Regions from separate parts of the Homo sapiens genome. Here region 1 is linked to region 2. Evidence: promoter capture Hi-C in human tissues and cell types (Jung and others, 2019). All regions are on one chromosome and are shown on one strand. Each heading gives the region's core, a stretch centred on a gene start or on the middle of the fragment in contact. The rest is flanking DNA. Distances are from core to core; before and after follow the strand shown.

Region 1 (6,895 bases), core at 2,669-5,168, 730 kb before region 2:
GCCGCATGGAGAGGCCACATGTAGGTGCTCTTGTGAACAGGTGAAATTGCTCCAAGGGTCAGCATCAACTTCCAGCCATGTAAATGAGTCCAGTGACCTTGGACATCCAGCCCAGTCAAGCCTTCAGCTGACTCTGCCCCAGTCACCATCAGACAGACATGGCATAAAGAACACCAAGCAAGAACTGCTCAGCTGAGCCCAGGTTTTCCACAGAACCATGGGGATAATCATGAATTATCATTTGCACCATTAACTTGTGCAGCAAATTGTACTGTAGCTATAGATAACTAAAGCAGTAGGGGCAATGAAAATGTATCATAAATTTGAGAGATTTTTGCCTCCTCCTTTCCTGTTTCCCTCCCATCTTCCCTTAGTCACAAGTGAATGGGAACATCTAGCACAAGTATGGTCAGAGAACAAGCCTCAGATAAACACACTTGAAAGACATAGTAGAGAATTTAGAGACCGCTGATACCCATTGGTGCCTACAGCTTGTAGCACATAGTATTGTGAGATCCTGGGCTCTGGAGTCAGAGCTACCTTAGTTAAAACCTAGCACAAATCCCTACCAGCCATGGGTTCCTAGGTAATTTACATCATCTTTCTGTGTTCAGGTTTCCTCACCTAAACCGTAATGGACAAAGTGTATGTAAATCTCTTTAGAATAATAGTGCTGACATATAAGAAGAGCTCAATAAACCTTAGTTATTATTGTGGTAGTTGTTTTTGCTGTGATAGTGACAATGATACCTCGACACTCATAATTTGTATTTCCTATGCCAATTTCTGGCCTTTTTTATGTCAGACTCTGGCTTCTTTGAATCAAATAACAAACACTTCATGTTATCTTGTGGCCTTTGATTCAATTTGATTATATCAGTGTTCGTATAAGGCTTTTTATTTTATTTTATTATTTATTTATTTATTTACTTATTTTATTGAGACGGAGTCTCGCTCTGTCGCCCAGGCTGGAGTGCAGTGGCGCGATCTCAGCTCACTGCAAGCTCCGCCTCCCAGGTTCACGCCATTCTCCTGCCTCAGCTTCCCGAGTAGCTGGGACTATAGGCGCCCACCACCACGCCCGGCTAATTTTTTTGTATTTTTAGTAGAGACGGGGTTTCACCGTGTTAGCCAGGATGGTCTCGATCTCCTGACCTCGTGATCCACCCACCTCGACCTCCCAAAGTGCTGGGATTACAGGCTTGAGCCACCGCGCCCGGCCAAGGCTTTTTAAATATGTCATTTTGTATACAATATTTCAAATATATTTTATGTTTGTCGTTTTTATTTTTTAAGTGATTAAATACCAGAAAAATAAAATGCTTATAATGATAATACAGTAGAAATTTCAACTAAACTCTGCTTAATTAATTAATGGGATTAATCATCACTCTCTATGCTGCCTGGAATTGTAATGACTGATGTGATGACTGATGTTTAGGGCTGAGGCTGGCCTGTGCTATATCTAAAATTCTGCATATCAAGAATCAGTGGTGTTTGTTCACAAACCTATTTATGTCAATGTTCCTTATCATTATAATTACATAATTTAATCAAATATTATGCAATTTGTAATCTGTTAGTGTTAAAATAGTATTATTTGTATAACAAATAAATGGAATATTTTGAAAAGAATATAGACAAGTCACTAAAATAATATCAAATTAGGTGAAAGTGACACAACTGTAAAAAACTGGAAAGATAATCTAGAAGTATTTGGCATGCAGTTTCCTTCACAAGTATTTTTAAGTTCCTGCTGCTCTTTAAAGAAACAGAAACTGGAAATGGTTGGGGTGGGGGTGCAATATAGATATGATTTAGGAACAAAGTGAATTCATTCAACGAAAAGCCTTGGCTCTATACCAAAAGATTGGCAAGTTAATGTAGGTTTTCGTTTCAAGCTATTTTTCACCACTTTAATCAACTGTATTTATTAACAGACCAGTCCCTAATCCTAGTTGTGTCTGATAAATGGACTTACCAGTGGTATGTGGGTAAATGCTCAACAAGCAATTCTCTGAGGATGGGAAGGACACCTTGATTTGTAGTATTTACCAGCTCCCATGGTGTAAATATTATCACCATGGTTGATTTCAAGTTGTCATTGTGATATCAATCAGGTCACATAATTCCTAAAGATTTAACAGGGACTCTCTCAGGTTGGTACTATTCCAGAAGAGGAGTCATCAGGGGATACTGAGAGTAGCCCATGTTTAGAGTCAGTGTTCATTTGAGTTCAACTACCTGACCAGTTGTTCTTCAGTGAAGAGAACTCACAAAACCTAAAAGACACACATGAAACATATGATTGTGGAAACATTATCAAATGTCATAAAAATGATAAGTTAAAACCAAGCTATATAAAATTTCTATGATCCAGACACAGAGTAAATTTCCATTGAAATGTTGATCAAGATTCTGCTTGATACAAAATATAAAACCAGTATTCAACCTTCTTTAGCAACATTTTTCAGCATAAAAAAATGTATTCATTATTCTGGCAAAATGAGGGCTGGTATGTTTCCTAAATCTCACCTCTTATTAACTTTGGGAAGTGAATTTATGTTGTTGGATGTTAACGTTTGATTTATTAGTTATATTTTAAATAATCATGTAATATTGCATGACATTTGGGGATTTTCTTATATTTTTAGAGTTACAGGTACGGAAACACCACTCATGAGAATATCTACTTTTTATATTCAACATTCATATATACATATTTTCAGGAATGAATTATGTACAAAAGTAAGAAATGGATTATAATATTGTGAAAGGTCCCTTGTCTTTGAAGGATTAATTACTATACCCTTGGGTTCTGATTTAATAGAGTACAATGTTCTGATTTAATAGAGTACAATGATCAAGGAAAAGCAAAGAAGTTCCATAGAAAGAAAACTACTCCTATGAGCTTCTGCAAAGTCACACAGTACATTGTTAAGGGATACTGCTGACTCACCAGCCTTCTGCTTTCATTTGTTCTTCTGTAAGCATATGCATTATCCAAGCTTTCAGGAGAAATGTCACTAACAAATATTCTAACTATGTCACTCTATAAGAGTTTTAATATGAAAAGTCCCCAAGGCTAAATAAAGATGCTGCAGGTGGCACTATTTATCATGACGTACTTCTGAAGCGTAGTGATATTGGGCCACCTTACTGAACTCTAATGAACAATGTTCCCAAGGCAGGAGAGCTCAGGGATGACCGGAATCCATGGCTTAGCAATCCCACTCTTCTTTTGCTAAACAGAAAATGAGATTGTGCTCCTCTTCCATAGATAAGAAAACCCTCCCTCTACAACAGCCCTTACTCCCCTCTCCAGGCTCAAACCAAAGTGAAAGACCAGGAATAAATGCTAACACTGAAGTATGTTTTAACATTCAAAGACCTTTTTGCCACTAACATACAAAGACTCTGTGTGGAGTGGAGGTGTTTCATCCATAGGATCATAGGGTTGATTGTTTTTTAGATGGTGAAGTGGAAATCTAGAGAGCTGGAGTGACTTGCTCCTTCAGGACTGCCATGTTTAGTGGCAAGGTGTCTTGATACTTAGTGTAGTACTTGCTTCTACTTTTTTATTCCAGTGGAAGAGATGCCCACTTATGTGAACTACCTGGGACTGATTTTCTTCTCTCTCTTTTATATTTTCATGGAATAAGGGTTCTGCTACCCCAAGATACAATTAACACTCAGAGAGGCTTCAACTTATACAAGTTCACTCAGATAGTCAGTAGCAGAGTTGAGATTTCAACCTAGGTTTACCTGATTTCAAACTCCATGGACTTTCAACTACACATATTAACTCTAAGAATAACCGTGGTCCTGGTGACCTGCCTGCAAGCGTCTCAGGGTGGGATGGCAGTCATGGTGATGTACAGGCACTGCCCACTTGTCTCCAGCATGTGTACAGGCCTTGCCTTTCTTTCCAGGTCTCCCTGAGTTATGCCTCAGCTCACTAAAGCAAAAACTTCACTTCTTTCTCCACCTGGGTAAGTTTTCAATGGCCCTGCACAGAAGTTTAAGTTTTGAAATTCCATCTTTATTCTATGCCACATGTTTTAGTCTGTTCTCAGGCTGCTAATAAAGATATACCTGAGACTGGGTAATTTATAAAGGAAAGAGGTTTAATTGATTCCCATTTTCACATAGCTGGGGAGGCCTCACAATCATTGTGGATGGCAAAGCAGGAGCAAAGTCATGTCTTACTGGCAGCAGGCAAGAGGGCGTGTGCAGGGGTCCTCCCATGTATAAAACCATCAGATCTCATGAGACTTATTCACTACCACGAGAACAGTATGTGGGAAACCACCCCCATGATTCAGTTATCTCCCACCAGGTCCCTCCCATGACACGTGGGAATTATGGGAGCTACAACTCAAGGTGAGATTTGGGTGGGGACACAGCCAAACCATATCACCACAGCTTGGGAAGGAGGCAAGCATATGGCTGGGCCATGGTCTGAGAACAAAGATTCTTTCCTTCACCCCAGATCTCCTGAGGATTTCCTGCATATCATGCCATGGATATTGCCTTTGGTTACAATCTAGAGAATTTTTCTCATCGCTTTACATACGTAAAATTACAGCCAAGTTAGGAAATCGGTATGTGAGTCTAGACAAATGTATTTTGGAAATATGTAAAATATTTCCCAAATATTTGGAAATCATTCCAATGTTCTTTTTACCAGTTTATTTCTCTGAAATTCTTCAGAAATAAATAGGAAAAATGTATTGAGCATGCTTCAGAAAAATAAATAAGGCAAATCAAAAGGTTTAGTGACTTCTAATACAACATGGCCAAGAGGGCGCAGGGGGCACAAACTATGCCCTTCCATTAATTGTATCCTGTGTAGCATTCACTGAAACACCCAAAGGCTCTCTATTATAACAGTAAAAAGGATGCATTCGGTTAGAGTTAACTATGTTCTAACTAAACAGGATTTCTAGCTTGAAAACTAAGCAAGAATTCTTGATCAATTTGGAGTTTTAATCAGGCCTTCCAGCATTAGGAGTAGATTCTGATGGAGGCAGCACGAAGTTGTCCTACATCAATGGCTGAAGAATGCTCCTTGGTGTGTGTGTGTGTGTGTGTGTGTGTGTGTGTGTGTATGTGTGTCTAACAGAGGAGAGAGAGGAAAAGGGAGGTGAACGGTTGCAATGGGCATGGCATCTCCCCAGATCCTGCCTCCTGTCCTGTTCCCTGTCCTTGGCCCATGTCTATTTTGTGCTGGAAGCACAGGCACAGGACAGTGGCTCCCCTAATCAAGATGGGGAGGGAATCAGAGCCCTCAACATAATTTGTGGAAAGGGGATAGGTACAGAGAGAGTAATGGATGGAATGTGTTTCTAGGTTTCCCTACAAATTTTAAGAAACAATGGCTACTGATTAATAATAAAACACACAAAAAAACTAATAATAAAACACAAATTACTGGCTTCATTTTTCTTTTTTTCAGCTTCTGTTAGCAAAATTGTTTGCGTTGAGGTGCACATGAGAAATACCCAAACTGTTTGCCTACCGTGAGTCCTCTTGGGACTCGCTGGCCGCCTGAATGTATTTCTTGTTTCCCAGGAGGCCAATGATTTGCACAACACATCCTTCCCCAGACCCCAAAGCCAAACATTGACATATTCCAGCAATCAGCTCACATTGCCTCCATCCAGGAAGCTTTCTTTGTGCACTGAACTCGAAGAATCACTGAGTGCCCTCAGATAAACTTAACACTACTCATCTTTCTCAGTTTAAGATGTGTACTGTGGAACGGAAGTGTTTTGTTAATGCTTAGCATGACATGAAAGCTGTTTCTGCATTTTCCCATCGTACATTTCTACTGTCTTTAGCTCAGCATCTTTATGCGATGGGGAGAGATCCCACACAATGCACAGATGGAGTGGGAATGGAGGCAAATTTCTATGGGGCTCAAAACTCATTCTGCCATATGCTGTTCTCTCTCCTTCCGAATTCTGTTGAGCGCACCACCGCTGGTTGGCACAGAGTGACAAAGATGGAGAGGCTTTAATCAGTTGAGTCTTCCATTTCTAGCCATTTCAATAACTCCTTTAGGTAAAAAGGCCAGTGTCAATTCGAGTTATTTATATGAATAAAAATCCTGTTTCTCTCCTCTGTAAATTAATTGTTCCAGGAATTCTGTGTGATCCCGAAAATGTAAGCATTTAGAATTAGCCTGTTTTATGTAATACAGAAATGATTTTAAAAGTCTGACAAATTAAGGTATAGTTTTATTAGCTGTCAGTCAGTCTTTCTTTCCTAGAATGTTCCAGTGAGAAATGACATTCTTTATGTCTCTGCACAACTTAAATTACAGGCCTGCTTATTTTTTATTTTCAACATAAATAAAATTTATTATTATCAGAGCAGTAGTGAATCCCAGCTTTTAGTACTTATCAGACTTGTATAGAGAGAAAGAATTTTGTTCTTATGCTTTCTGGGAGCTTTTTGAAACCTTTTATTCCAGCTTTGATTTTTTTTATTACTTTTTTATTTCCTTCTACGATTTTTCTTTCATAAGTTGTGTGATAATGTAACAAAATTACCATTAAACTCCAAATTCCTATATTCATATCCATATATGCTCCATATATGCCCCATATTCATTGCTCTACTTTGATAGTTTCTTTCAGATAAATTACATGTCGATGAGTTTTCAAGGGACTGACTTTTAAGTTTCAAAGGGGATCCCACTCCTGTCAAACTAACAAGTTAAAATAACATTGTTATGGGCCTCTGATACCCAAAAGACTTTTCTAGGCATGAGAAAAAACTAATTATAATAACTTTTACCAGATTTTTTCAGCTTTGTCGCCATTACCTGAGTTCATTTCTACAATCATATTAATAGCCATGCAGCCAAGTATAGTGACTAGTCCTCTCT
Region 2 (7,264 bases), core at 1,953-4,452:
CCAAAACAAACCAAACAGATCTAATTTGATTTGGGGCAACATTAACAGGAGCTATATTGCTAAAGGTTGAGGGTGAGGTAAGAATTTCCCTCTGTTTTATACAGGTCTAAACCCACATTGAATTTGGAGTATTCTGTTCAGATAAAGTTTAGAGGAAAGCAAGAAATGTGTTCTTTAAAGAACAGGTGAAGGAAACGGGAATAGTGTGGAGAACGGCTGTTTCCATCCATTCATTTTTGAACATATTTATTCAATGTAAATTATGTCAGGCAAGGTAGGTGCAAAAAAAAAAAAAACCCAAAAATAATGACACAAAATAACTGTGGGTATTTTCCGGCAGCCAATGAAGGGAAACATTATTGATTGCCACTTACTACTACATTAAGTACGTTAAATGTATTAGCTCCTTTAATCCTATAAAGTAGTATTATCATCCTTACTTTGGGTTGAGTAAACTGAAGCTTTGAAGCTAAAGTCATTTTCCCAACATCACACATATAAGTGGTGGTGGAACTAGAATCTAAATCCAGCTTCCATTGAATCTGGGGCATGACTTCTCAACCTCTCTGCAATATTGCTTCCTGAAACTCAGATTCACAGGTTTCTTATCTTTGAATGATTGTCCTTAGGAAGTATGGGTATGCAAAAATGCATACAAAATTAATATTCACCACATAAAATATATTTTTTAATCTGGAGATTTAAAAATATACATATTGGGTATCTTCTATTATTATGTAGCTTTTCTTTCAAAATATTGTTAATGTAAATGTAAAGTTATTTGCACATTTTCCGGGAAAAGGTTTTGTAGGCCAAAAAGAAATAGACCTGTTGACTTTTCTGAACTTTATGCTTTTGGGATGGTATGGAAGACATATAACTGTGCAATTATGCAGACTTGTATGTGGTTATAATTGGTATTACATGTGTTTATAGGTCATGCAACACACATGCCTGTATACTAAGGACACAAAGACACATTGACTATATGCTAGCTGCTCAGCTGAAATTATTTTATGGAATTCTTACTTCCCTATGAAACACATATTATCATTCCTACTTAAGGAACCAGGAGACTGAAACTCAAATAGCTTGAGTAGACTGCAAAGGTAGTAAGTTGTAACTATGACTCAAAGAATCATGCACTTTCCACAGTATCATAGCGCCTGCGAGGAGCTGATTGTCTACTGGAGAAAGATTTTTAATTGGTAAGCTCTTTTAAATATCTCTGAAATTGAATTAAGTAGGCAAAAGAAGTGGAGTTTTCCTACTTAGAAATGGTGATATTATCTTTACCCACTCACTATCTTCACTAAGAAAAATGAGCAGAAAAATACAACCAACTGCATATACATACTACTTAAGAAAAAATACAAGAAAAATCAAAATGGAAATGTTAAAAATGATGTTAAGCTATTCATTCAGAAAGGAAATAGAAAGTTCAGGTTGTCACTGTCTCTCAAAGTACTCATGCAAGAAGTCTAAAAATAGCAAAAGGTAGAACCTGCTGCCATATAGATATATGCACAGTGGGTAAAAAAACTTAGTGTGACAACCTTTCAGTCTAGATTTATGTATTTTACAAAGATATCATTTTAAATTTGCAAATGAAACAGTACTCTTAAAAGCAGATGATACTCACTTGGGACAGACAAAAATGTAGTAGAAGGATATAAACGTTACAGGATTTTTCAATTATATAGTATATCTCAAGTCATACTATTATGACTTGTATGTTTTGTAAATTTCCCGTACAGTTTCAAGCATTCTAGCATTTTATAATTCAATTGCCATTTAATTTAAATGGACATGCTAGTTACCACTGCTTTCAGAAGTGTTTGCTTAACTACTTTAACAATTCAATCACTTTGGTGCAAGTTTAAACAAACAGACATGCAACCAAGAATTCATCCTAAGTACTGGTTTTGAGGAACTTTTTTATAACCTGTGGTACTTAGAATTTTACCGTGTTCCCATATCCTGGGAGTTAACTTGACTGGCAGGTCCAATTAAATATGAATAATAACAAAACTGATTATGGTGGATTTGTATATTGACCTTTTTCATTTGAGAGGACAATTAAAACGATCTGAATATACCTCAAGATACCTAATATTTCTGGTGACTTGCAATAATCTTTATTGAAAAGGGAAGACCTCATGAAATATTAAAGAAAATTATATCATTCCTTTCAAGGAACAGTCATGCCTATTTAGTTTTAATTCAATACTAACAGCAAGATTACTGTGTACATTTTAATTTTTAAAAATTAAAGGTTTATTTTTTGTCTCGTATCTGTGCAGACATAGATATGTACTTTTCTCACAGACAAGGCTGGCAGTGAGAATCACCCATGTTTTTAGATAATTTCGAAAGTCCTCTGAATTGTACGTGCCTGTGAAAAAAGGAAACATTAATAATTGGCATCATACCTGAGGATTGTCAGGATTTTGAAAGTGTGGGATTTGTCGTTCCCACCAAACTACCCCACAGTGTCACACACTGCAGTCTTTTTAGGCTGGGAGGCGAGTTCAAGAGCTGTTTGTTGTTCCGAGCTTGATCCAGAGAGGATCACTGTTTGACAAGTTCTATTTTAAGTCGTGCCTGAGTGTGCAGGTGTCAGCCTCTTTCATGGCTGTAGAAAAAGCACCATTACACTCCGTCTGTATTCTTCCCCCGACAATGCAGGATCGCCCCCCCGCCCCCCCGCGCGTTTGTTTCTGCTTTGCCAGCCACTTTTTCTTTGGGAAATTCTAGGGAGGGCAGGCGGACAGGACTGCGAGGAAGGGCGAGGAGGGGCAGAAAGAGGTCGTCTGCCACTCCCCTACCTTACAAGGCACGTGGCACTGGCAGTAGCAGCAGCTGGATGCAACAACTGAGATGAGGAACCTCCTCCCAGCAAGAGGATATTGAGAGAAGGAGGAGGTGGCAGCGAAGGCAAGACATGCACACTGTGTCCTTCCCCAAAGGGAGAATCCGCCCTCAAGGGAAAAACCACAAGGAAGCCACTACCCGCCCCGCCTCTGCCAGCTTGCCCCAGTGTCTGGCAGCAGTCCCCATGCACCTGCTCACCTGTCTATCCGTTCGGGGTGGTTGGGGGAGGGACGAGGGGTGTCGGGGTGGGTGGGTGGGAAGAGAAGGAGGGCAGGGCAAAAGAGGGGGTGCACCGAGGGCTCCGCCCCCCCGGAGGCTGTGCGCAGGCGCAGTGGCTGCTACCGCAGGCAGGGGGCGGCAACATGGCGGAGTGAGCGGCGGCGTCGGGGCTTCACAACAACAGTGGTGGCCGTAGCAGCGGCGGCAGCAGCGTCAATAGCATCGGCCACAGCCTGAGCTTCAGCACCGGCCAGCGTCGTGGCCAGCTGCTCGCGTCCTCGGGCTTCTCGGAGCGGCTGCAGCATCTCCGCGGGGGGCGGGCCGGGCCGGACAGACCGGGAGAGGGAGAGAGCAGAGGCAGCGGCGGCGGCAGCGGCAGCGGCAGCGGCACACCTGCTGGGCGGGCACAGCCGCTTGCCCGGCAGCGGTTAGCGGTACCGCCACCGCCGAGAATAAGCCTGCGGATCCCCCGCCGCCTCCGCGGGGGAGAGCGCCGGAGCGGGCCGGGCTGAGGCGCAGGCGGGGAGCGGGCCCGGCGCCGCGGCGCTGGTGGATGCTGGGGCTCCGAGGCGACGGCCGGGGGGCGGGGGCCGAGGCAGGTATAACGGTACCGGCGGCGGCAGCGCCGCTGCTCTTCCCTTCTCCTCAGGAGGGGGGCCAATGGCTAGCGAGAAGCCGGGCCCGGGCCCGGGGCTCGAGCCTCAGCCCGTGGGGCTCATTGCCGTCGGGGCCGCTGGCGGAGGCGGCGGGGGCAGCGGTGGTGGCGGCACCGGGGGCAGCGGGATGGGGGAGCTAAGGGGGGCGTCCGGCTCCGGCTCGGTGATGCTCCCCGCGGGGATGATTAACCCTTCGGTGCCGATCCGCAACATCCGGATGAAATTCGCAGTGTTGATTGGACTCATACAGGTCGGAGAGGTCAGCAACAGGGACATCGTGGAGACGGTGCTCAACCTGGTAAGGAAAAGGCGTGCTCTCAATCTGCTTCCCCAGTCCCCACATACACCGTCCCCAGCGCCTTTCCCTCCCACCCTTCACCCCCAGGGTCACACGCGCCGCGCGTCCCTGGGAGCGCAGAGCGTTCAGCCGGTATTGCCCAGCGGGTGACCTGCCTGCGCGCTGCTAGAGCCACGCCACCTCCCTCCTCTCCTCTTTCTGGTCCTCTCCTGCCACCTGAGCGCAGTGCCCAACTTAACACCGCTTCTTCTCACTTTTTAGGACCGCGAGTAACCCAGTACCCGCGGTGAAGGTTTTGGGTCGACTTTAGAGTTTAGTTAGGAGGTGAGGAGGCCTCCTGTTCTCTGGGGTTCTTTTTCTCACACTTAATTGTCCTTGGTGTCGCTCTCCGAGGATGACAGCCTTGCCCCTGGAGCCTAAATTCCCCCGTGCTGCTGAAATGTGAGAAGCGCATTAGCTTCCAACTTGAGCAGCTGGGGTGTGATGTTTTCGAAGGAGACAGAAAATGATGCAGTTTTGCATCTGTCTTTAAATATTCCAAGGCCATGATGGAGAGTGTTGTGTCTGTATCCATCCCCCTCCATCTCAGAAGCAGCCGTCCCTTCTTTGTAATATTGCCCTGAATATACTGATCTCTTAGTCATTTTTTGTGCACACAAGGTGTGTGAGGACACCAAATCACACAGGTTGATTTCTGTGGTTACTTTCAGTAGTGTGGCATGTGGGTAAAGACTAAAGGAAAGGTTTTAAACGCAGCCCTAGGTTTTGGTTCCTTTCATGGTAAGAAAGAGTTACTGCAGAAGTGTGTATGACTTAATGTTTTGCGCTATCTACAGAGAGGCTCAGAAGCGTTTAAGATGTCAGGGAAAGAAATGGAAAGAAGGAGAGGAGAATCATACATTGAGGATAATTAACAGTAGTTCATATTTAGTGCTTTGTAAATGGAGGTTTTGTTTTGTTTTGTTTTGTTTTTAAATGCAGCCAAGCTTTTTAAACAGTTTTCTCTGCAATAGATCTAGTCTTTGACATACTGTAAGGTTGGGCTTTGGGAGGCAAGACATAAATCGAGAGCAATCAGTTGAGTATTGTATTTGGTGTGGGGTCACAGGAATATAACAATATGCTTACAGGGGTACTTTGTAACACCCATGCAGTCATTTTTCAGCTAAGCAATTATTTTTACTTACTCTATTGGAAAACTGAGAGAAAGCTGCAGCTACATCAGTGGTGTCCTGAGACATGCATTAGATAATGTCTACGGTTTATGAACCTCGTAAATGCACAGAAAAGTTGAAGCTGTTTTTTTCCTTTTGCTAGTGTGTCAGGTCAAAGGAGATTATCTGTCTTTGTTATATTCATTGCTGTTTAAAACAAAACACCTCTTTTTACTTTTTTGTACCTTTCAAATAAATCATCATGAAAAGTCAGTGTAAGTTTGAGGGAATGTCACTAAGTTGATATAACCAAGTTCTTTTCAGAACACTACTAGAAATACAGTTTTCTTGAGTTTTAATTTTAACTAGCTGCAAATAAGAGGTCAGTACTTGCCATTTCTTTTTAAAAGAAGATAAATCTCAAACTGTTAGTATGTTAGCAGGTAACTGTATTTCTGTAATTTAAAGGAACACATTTTTAGTTGCAGTTTTGATCTAACCAATATCATTTTTAAGTTAGATTATATTAGGCTATTTTAGTAAGTATTCCTATGCTTACTTAATACATTTTAACCTGGTAAGAGGCAGTAGAGCTTTCACAACCTGGAAACTGATTTGAATGTATAACCAGTTTGGACTCTGCAGCAGTAGCAATGTGTGCTGAATCAGTTCTTAACAGATGGGGTTTTTTAGATATACGGTAGACTAAGAAAGGAAGTGAAATGTTTCTCTTGAGATAAAAAAGAAATTTAACTCTTCAGAGCAATGAAAATCTGACATGAAGTTTCAGTATGCAGACGTTATTTTAGAGAACTTTACCATTAAGCTTAGAGTCACTAGAAATAAAGTAATACTGAGATAGTATATCCCCAAATCTACCTAAGATTTTGTAACTGCAATGATATTTGGAATTTAAAGAGTTAGGTTTAAAATTTCTTTGTATGTATTTAAAGAATGCAATAGATTTTTAAATAGAAACTTTTGGAGAAAAGAATAAATGACAAAAGGAGCTGTTTATTACTAAGTTGTTAATTATATTAATTGTGGAGTATAAATTAGTCATTTGAAGTGTAATTTTCTTGAACTGTAGATTTAGGGCTTTATTGTCCAATACACTCATGAAAATGTCATATGAAAATTTAAGTGGATTCTCAAAAATATGTGGAAGTCATGGGCATTTAAAAAACTGATTATCAAACTTAATTCTATTTATTTAGTAAGTAAACCAATAAAATTCATATAGGACACTCAGTGACTCGTTAGAGTTTGGAAACCTTTAATATTAAATCTAAAATGATTTTTTAAAATTTTCAGTTTTAGTTTAACACATTAAATAAAAATGTAAGGTGAAATAGTGAAATACCTATTACTGTGCCCTGAATGACAGAAAAGAAAGGAGAACTAATGAAACTTCAAAAAAAAGAGGAGTTTCTACCTTAAACAATACCTTTGTCTCAGTCGCCTTTGTCAGTATATTTTTCTTTCTTTTTCCTGTTTATTTTTTCTTCCTATGTAAGGATACTCATAAATACTTGGTTTTTAGGTGCTGTTTCTCACATGCCTTGGCCAAAGAATTAAAAGCTGGGCAGAGTGAAGTTTTAAGCATGCACTAAAGTGTAGGACTTCTTCAACAGAGCGGTGGCTGTAATTTTTCTGCTTTGTTTCCCAAAGGTCTAGAGACCTATTTTTACTACTAGGTGGATTGTGGGAGTTTGGTGAGGAATCACCAATGTGATATGATATAAAATTAGTCATTTTTATTAGAGATGTATGTATTTTGTATAATGATGTTATAGTTGACTTAAAACAGTGAAATATGGAATGGATAATGTTAGGAAGGTAGGTAAATTAGTTTGTGAATAAAGTTACAGTCAGAGTGCATTGTCAAGGATTTTGCATTGTAGCTCTACTAATGAAAGAAACTGATCGTTAACAAAGTTTGGCTTCTGGAGGAATTATTTAAAGTGGCAATATAAGAGAATTTAACTACAGAGAAGAGATTTTGTTGATTGTTTTCAGTTGTAAAACTGGCGTACTACCTAATCTATTACTTCTTTTGTAAA

Evidence for each region. Contacts are between HindIII fragments. The study calls those that stand out against the background at their distance.
Region 1: a fragment that was not itself captured here is called in contact with the fragment with the promoter of NBEA in region 2 in 1 of the 25 tissues and cell types used here (dorsolateral prefrontal cortex).

What each region holds. Positions count from the first base shown.
Region 1 is chr13:34,211,932-34,218,826 of GRCh38, forward strand. No RefSeq gene overlaps it. Among named protein-coding and RNA genes, the nearest start is that of LINC02343, 130 kb to the right of the region's middle. The HindIII fragment of the contact is 4,892 bases long and covers 1,473-6,364 here.
Region 2 is chr13:34,939,068-34,946,331 of GRCh38, forward strand. NBEA (neurobeachin) reads left to right here and starts at 3,203. Exons shown (of 59, transcript NM_001385012.1): 1 at 3,203-4,047. The coding sequence starts at 3,754. It overlaps LOC124903231 (a long non-coding RNA gene), which reads right to left and starts at 3,123. Exons shown (of 2, transcript XR_007063908.1): 1 at 3,073-3,123; 2 at 2,254-2,635. RefSeq lists an enhancer at 2,785-2,894 and silencers at 3,065-3,134, 3,575-3,694, 4,754-4,843. The HindIII fragment of the contact is 6,257 bases long and covers 1-5,530 here.